Regions from separate parts of the Homo sapiens genome. Here region 2 is linked to region 1. Evidence: promoter capture Hi-C in human tissues and cell types (Jung and others, 2019). All regions are on one chromosome and are shown on one strand. Each heading gives the region's core, a stretch centred on a gene start or on the middle of the fragment in contact. The rest is flanking DNA. Distances are from core to core; before and after follow the strand shown.

What was found. Contacts are between HindIII fragments. The study calls those that stand out against the background at their distance.
Region 2: a contact is called between a fragment that was not itself captured here and the fragment with the promoter of PRKAG2 in region 1, in 1 of the 25 tissues and cell types used here (spleen).

Annotation. Positions count from the first base shown.
Region 1 is chr7:151,875,083-151,878,603 of GRCh38, reverse strand. It overlaps PRKAG2 (protein kinase AMP-activated non-catalytic subunit gamma 2), which reads left to right and starts at 1,489. Exons shown (of 16, transcript NM_016203.4): 1 at 1,489-2,097. The coding sequence starts at 1,984. It overlaps PRKAG2-AS1 (PRKAG2 antisense RNA 1), which reads right to left and starts at 1,562. Exons shown (of 3, transcript NR_038926.1): 1 at 1,464-1,562; 2 at 738-767; 3 at 1-42. RefSeq lists silencers at 995-1,424, 2,187-2,236, 2,297-2,436 and an enhancer at 2,627-2,746. The HindIII fragment of the contact is 16,422 bases long and covers 1-3,521 here.
Region 2 is chr7:152,723,105-152,726,746 of GRCh38, reverse strand. No RefSeq gene overlaps it. Among named protein-coding and RNA genes, the nearest start is that of ACTR3B, 35 kb to the left of the region's middle. The HindIII fragment of the contact is 3,131 bases long and covers 275-3,405 here.

The DNA of each region.
Region 1 (3,521 bases), core at 240-2,739:
GGCTCTGTCTCGAGACTGGGGATCTTCCAGGCTGGCTTCATTCTGGACCAGAGAGCAGAGGAGAAGGAGAAAGAATATAAACCCACCCCTATGAGCCAGGGAACCACCCAAGCTGTAAGGATTTTGTGCAAGCTGCTGGAACTCGGGTTGGAAAAGCCACCCGGCAAGCAGCTGAAAGGAAGGATGCTTCTCCCTGCGTGGGCGCACGCCTGCTTCCTAAGAGATGATCCTTTGGGTGGGCTGATCATGCCTCCTCCTCTGGGGAGGGAGTCCTGCGAAAGCACGCACCTCAAAAGGAGTAAAGGCCCTATGGTGTCCCCAAAGCGACCCCTGTCGCGTTCTTTCTGCGGGTGGCCTCCCTGCATTACTGATTACTCGGAGCGGCTGAGCTGACGTCAGCATTCTGGGAGCGCCAATGACCTTTGGGGTCATCACATCCTCAGAAACTAGAGCAGGAGGGGAAGCGACCCCCAAGCCAGCACTCCCCCTACTTTCCACCAGGGAGCCGAGGTCGCGCCATCCTGGGGCGCATCTGGGGGTGGGGGACACACCAGCCCCCTCCCCCAACCCCTCTAGGGCCCTCGGCAGCAGGCGGTACTGGATGCCCACCCGGGGCTCTAAAGGACCTGGGCCGCACCGGGAACCCTCGCCCGGGTCTTCGAGCCCTCCCCTTCTCCCAATTCTTTCCGCAGTCTCAGGAGCCCCACGTTTCCCGCGGCGTGGGGACACGCACTTACCGCGGATCCACTGCGCAAACCTTGATGAACCTGAAAAAAGCAGGGTGGGGTGGGGTGGGGTGAGGGTGGGGGTGGCTAGACCCTGCTCGCACCCAGCGCCACGCACCGCTCTCTGGGCGGGTTCGAGTGCGCGCGCCGGGCGGGGCGGGACCCGGGGGCTGCGGTGTTTCGAGAAGCACGTGCTACTTCGCGCGCAGCGCCCCCGGAGACTGTGGGCTTCCTCGCTGCCTGGTCTACGGCAGGGCGGGCGCGGGGGCGTGTTTCAAAGGGTAGGGCACACAGTGAGACGCCGGGAGGCGGGATGGATCCGAAACCAGCTCGCAGCGAGTCCCAAGCGGCTGCGGCCGCCGCAGGGGTCTGGGCGCGGCGACGAGGGCGGCGTGGGGCGACGGGGAGCGGGACGGTGGCGCTGCACGCCGCGCACTTCCTGTTCAACACGCGCCGCCTCCCACCACCCGCGCTCCCCGAGCTTGCGTCGGTGCCAGGCCCGGCCCCTCACTGTCCCCTTGCGGTCCCCTGGGGCCGCGGCGCGGCGGGGGGCGAGGAGCGGGCGCCCTGCCCTTCTTGGCCCGCTGGACTCCGGGCGCCCCCTCCGGCGCGCAGGGCCGCGAGCGCCGCCGCCAGAACTTCTGCCAGCGGCCGCCCGTAGCCTAATTGCGCAGAGGGCTCGCCTTGCACCTCCTCTTCCCCCGCCGCCCTCCCTCTCGCCCAGAAAGGAGGACGGACCCAGCTGCAGGCTCCGAGCTGGTTTATTCTGCGGCCGAGGATTACATTTATGCACGAACGGGCTTACTGGTTCCAGATTCCCCACTTGGGCACAGGCATAGGAGGCTTGTTTTCCAAATTGCTGGTTTTAATTGCACCTGCCTTTCAGATTACCTCTGGGAATCTGTGGGAGGAGCCGAGAGGGTGGAAAATGTTTCTTAGCTTTGCAAAAGGAAGAAAACTTTGTCACCCAGCGGGAGACCTCAGCCACGAGTAACCCGGGGAGACACCAGAACCGGGACGGGCTTTGACTGATTTGCCTACGAGGGTTCCGTAGGAAAGGACGCTTGAATTCGGCGCTTCGGCGGCGGCGGCGGCCGCGCGAGTTCCCTGCTCACCCTCCCTCTCCGCGGAAGTCCCCACGAGGTGGCTTCAGGGTGTAACAGAGCGCGCGGCTCCAGTCCGAAGGCAGCGGCCGGGGGAGGGAAGGAGGGGACCGAACCCCCGAGGAGTTTCGCAGAATCAACTTCTGGTTAGAGTTATGGGAAGCGCGGTTATGGACACCAAGAAGAAAAAAGATGTTTCCAGCCCCGGCGGGAGCGGCGGCAAGAAAAATGCCAGCCAGAAGAGGCGTTCGCTGCGCGTGCACATTCCGGTGAGTCCCAGCACTCGGTCCCCTGCTCCCCAGCCCTCCTGTCGCTCCCGTCCCCGGCGCCGAAGCGGTTAACGCTGGACGCCCCGCGCGCGCCGTGCGTGCCCCTCCTGTCACTTCGGGCGGCTTGGGGAAAGGGTAGAGGGACAGGGCCCGAGCTGGGCTGGCGGAGCCGGGGCTCAATCTCTCTCTCTGCCCGCGTGCAGCCAGGGCTGGGGCTCCGCCTGGGGCGGGGGCTGGGCGGCTGCAGACTAGAGGGGGCGCCGGGCGCGGCGGGTGGGCGGCTGGGCGTAGCCCGGTATCCAGCCGGGTGCGGGTGCGGGGGGCGGTGCGTTGTGTTGTTTTGCTGAAAAGGGACGGTGTGGACTGCGCTCCGGGGAGGTGGAGCCCGCGCTCGGCTGCTGGAGACGGAGAGAGGGGAGGGGAGGGAGGAGAGGGGAGGGGCGGTGGGTGGGGAAAGCAGCGGGGCGGGGGTTGGGGGGAGCTGTGTAGCTGCGTCTTCCAATGCACCCCCTCCGCTCCAGTTTCTCTCCGGGCGTTTCTGGGCCTGGAGCGGGGGTCTCCTCTGCCGCCGTTCCCTTCCCCCGCCCCGGGAGTGTACTTTGGGTCTCTGTGGTATTTGGGGGCTCGGAGCTCCCTAATCCGTGCAGGCTGCATTGAACTTCAGCCCCGTCCGCGCCAGCCGCCCGGGAGGACATTGGCGACTCGGATCTGCCTGCGGCTTCACTTTGTCCAGCCAGAGGGGCGGCGGGCCGCGTAGTGGTTCTCTTTTCGGAAGGCGCCCCGGTAGCCCGCGGCCACTGTTCCTCGCCTCCACGTAGCGGGGTAGGGCGGTGGGAGGTGTGGCCCACTGGGTCACACCCTCCGCCTCAGCCAACCAAGTAAATGTTTGTGTACACACACACACACACACACACACACACACACACACACACACACACACACACCAGAGTGCTCCGTAGAGAAAGTTATTTTGCTCTCCCGGGGCAGGGTGGGAGTGCGCAGTGAATGGGCTGTCCGGACCCCTCATTAAAGCTAATCCTTCCCGACAGGGTCAGGCGCAGCTGGCATGGCCGAGGCAGGCCACTCACTTCCCACTGTGAATCCCAGGGCGCACTGCCCCGTGTTTGCTGAGCCACCCTTCTTTTAGACGCCCCGCTAAGGTCCTCCTGTGTAAACTCCGGCCCACACGTGCCTAACGCTTGGGTGAAGAGGGTGGAGTCCAGGGGCGGGTCTCCAGACACCTGATGCCAAGTAGCCCCACAGGGGCCCTGGGCCAGCCCTCCCTGGCTGGAAAGCTCTGGGGCTGGAAACTTGGACCCCTGGCTGCTGTGTGGCCCCCACGGTGGTGACTCGATTATGCAGGAATAAGTGTTCTATTTGAAAATGAAACATTCTTGTTTACATCTCTCATGTAAGACATTTAA
Region 2 (3,642 bases), core at 591-3,090, 850 kb before region 1:
ATAGACCTCCCAAAGTTTCTGGTTTCATCACTGCCTGTAAATAGTGAACAAGAAATTGTAGGTCTTTGCTCAAATGATTTCTTCTACCAGGAATGCATTTGCTTGCACGTACATAACCTTTCAGCTCACATTCAGCTATCAGTTGCAATGAGGGAGAAATCATTTATTTTAACTGACCATTTATTATAATGATTTATACTCCAAAATATTAAAAAGCAGTAAAATAAACCAGATTAATTTTTAACTTCTTTCATTGCATTTTTCTCAGCTCACCTTCAAGTGAAAGTCCTAATGATTTTTAAAATATCACTCCACTAGAAGAAAAATAAGCTGAGTAACCCTGAAAATCCAGATGCAGAACTATCAAGGGACCGTGTACTCGCTCTACTTTATGATGTCATAACATCGTATGTACAATGATATGTACCCCAAGGCATTTAATGCTTTCAAAAGAATTTTTTTTTTTTTTGCTTTGAGACAGAGTGTCACTATGTTGCCCAGATTGGTCTTAAACTCCTGACCTCAAGTGATTCTTCCACCTCAACCTCCCAAATATTAATAGCTGGGATTACAAGTGTGAGCCACCATGCTTAGCTAAAAAAAAAAAAAAAAATTTTTTTTTTTTGAGACAGAGTCTCACTCTGTAGCCCAGGCTGGAGTGCAGTGGCGTGATCTCAGCTCACTGCAACCTCCACCTCTCGGGTTCAAGCAATTCTCATGCCTCAGCCTCCCAAGTAGCTGGAATTACAGGCATCCACCACCACACCCAGCTAATTTTTGTATTTTTAGTACAAACGGGGTTTCACCCTGTTGGCCAGGCTTGTCTCAAACTCCTGGCCTCAAGTGATCTGTCTGTCTTGGCCTCCCAAAGTGCTGGGATTGCAGGTATGAGCCAATGCACCTGGCCTAAAAAATTTTTTGTAAATTAATAGCTGCACAGCCTGGGCAACATGGAGAGACTCTGTCTCTACAAAAAAAAAAAAAAATTAAAAACAAATTAGCTGGGTGTGCTGGCACACACGTGTACTCCTAGCTACTCAGGAGGCTGAGGCAGGAGGATCACGTTAGCCTGGAAGGTAGAGGCTGCAGGGAGCCATGAACGCACTGCTGTACTCCAGCCTCAGAGATGGAGCAAGAGACACCCTGCATCAAAAAAAAAAAAAATTAATAGCTAATAGCTGTGCTTGACTGTGTTATTCAAAATATGAAACTTAAATGCTCAAATAAAATCAAAATATATGTCTTTTGCTTCACTCAACCTAGCCATCAAAACACTCCATTGGAGAAGAAAATTAAAAAGAATTGACAAGCTTTATTCTCATAATTGTGCTTTTAAGTTGATTGCTGTCAACTATTGAAAGCACTCTAATGTTGGTCAGTGTCTTCAGTGGATAAACGGAAAATTAGACTTGCTTAGTTAATATAAATTTTAACATAGATGTAAATAAAGCACAACTAAAATAGTACAATATTTCCTAATCACAAGCTAAACCATCAATCCACAATCACTTTTTAAGAAAAAAAATGCCTTTAATACAGAGTTTTTAGAAACTTTAACAAGGCTGGGCGCGTTGGCTCCTGCCTGTAATCCCAGCACTTTGGGAGGTTGAGGTGGGTGGATCACTTGAGTTCAGAAGTTCAAGACAAGCCTGACCAACATGGTGAAACCCCATCTCTACTAAAAATACAAAAATTAGCTGAGTGTGGTGGCACGTGCCTATAATCTCAGCTACTCAGGAGGCTGAGGCAGGAGAATCGCTTGAACCTGGGAGGCAGAGGTTGCAGTGAGCCAAGATCACGCCACTGCACTTGGCCACAGAGGCAGACTCTGTCTCAAAAAAATAAATAAATATGGCCAGGAGTGGTGGCTCATGCCTGTAATACTAGCACTTTGGGAGGCCGAGGTAGGTGGATCACCTGAGGTCAGGAGTTCAAGACTACCCCGGCCAACATGGTGAAACCCCATCTCTACTAAAAATACAAAATTAACCGGTATGGTGGCCACATGCCTGTAATCCCAGCTACTTGGGAGGCTGAGGCAGGAAAATTGCTTGAACCTGGGGAGCGGAGGTTGCAGTGAGCTGAGATCATACCATTGCACTCCAGCCTGGACAACTCCGTCTCCAGAAAATTAAACTCCAGGCAAGGCGCGGTGGCTCACGCCTGTAATCCCAGCACTTTGGGAGGCCAAGGTGGGCAGACCACAAGGTCAGGAGATCAAGACCATCCTGGCTAACACAGTGAAACCCTGTCTCTACTAAAAATATAAAAAAATAAGCCAGGTGTGGTGGCAGGCGCCTGTAGTCCCAGCTACTTGGGAGGCTGAGGCAGGAGAATGGTGTGAACCCAGGAGGCGTAGGTTGCAGTGAGCCAAGATCGCGCCTGGGCGACAGAGCAAGACTCTGTCTCAAAAAAAAAAAAAAAAAAAGTTAAACTCCATCTCAAAAAAAGCTAAACTCTGTCTCAAAAAAAAATTAAAAAATTAAATATAAATACATAAATAATAAAATTAAAATTAACACTTGTCAAATATTTTATTCAACTCATTAGTGAGGAAAATAGTAAGATGTGAAGACTGGTTCAAAGGACAAATGAGGAGCTAGGTATTTATAATCATATTAATAAATAAATATTAGGATAAAATTGATGGATCCAAAACTGGTTAATATCCTAGAGGGCACCAGACCATAACCTTTGGGGTTTTCTTTTCTGCTGCATGAAAATTATTTGCATCTCTTTTTGTTTTGTTCTGTTTTTTGGGTTTTGTTTTGTTTTTTGAGACCCAGTTTCACTCTGTCACCCAGACAGGTGTGATCTCAGCACACTGTAATCTCTGCCTCCTGGGCTCAAGCGATCCTCCCACCTCAGCCTCCTGTGTAGGTGGGACTACAGATGCGTGCCATCACACTCAGCTAATTTTTGTATTTTTTGTAGAGACAGAGGTCTTGCCATGTTGCCCAGCTGATCTCAAGCTCCTGAGCTCAGGTGATCCACCCACCTTGGCCTCCCAAAGTGCTGGGATTGCAAGCATGAGCTACCATGCCTGGCCTTTCTGGTTCTGGATTTTGTGGGGGGTTATTTTTAGAGACAAGGTCTTGCTCTGTCTCCCAGGCTGGAGTGCAGTGGCACAATCATGGCTCACTGTAATCTTGAACTCCTGGGCTCAAGCGATCCTCCCACACTTGGCCTCCCAAAGTGCTGGGATTACAGGCACCAGTCACAGCCCCCAGCCTGCATTTCTACCAGACAAGAATCTCTAAGTTACAGGCAACTTCTCTGAGCCTGAGAACTTTAATCAATAGTACCTAGTGGCTGAGCAAAGTATATTCCCTAAATTGTCCCTCTTGGATGGACCTTTGTCCTTATATGTCATTGACGAGCTGTGTGGTTTACCTGTTTACCTTGCTTTCAATTTTGGATAATTTTTCTTACCATCCCCTTACTCTTCTCCAGAGTCTACATTCAATTCTTGTTAGTCTTCCATCTTTTTTTTTTTTTTCCTTATGAGATGGAATTTTGCTCTTGTCGCCCAGACTGGAGTGTAATGGTGCTATCTTGGCTCACTGCAACCTTTGCCTCCCGGGTTCAAGCGATTCTTCTGCCTCAACCTCCCAAGTAGCTGGGACTACAGGCATGTGCCAC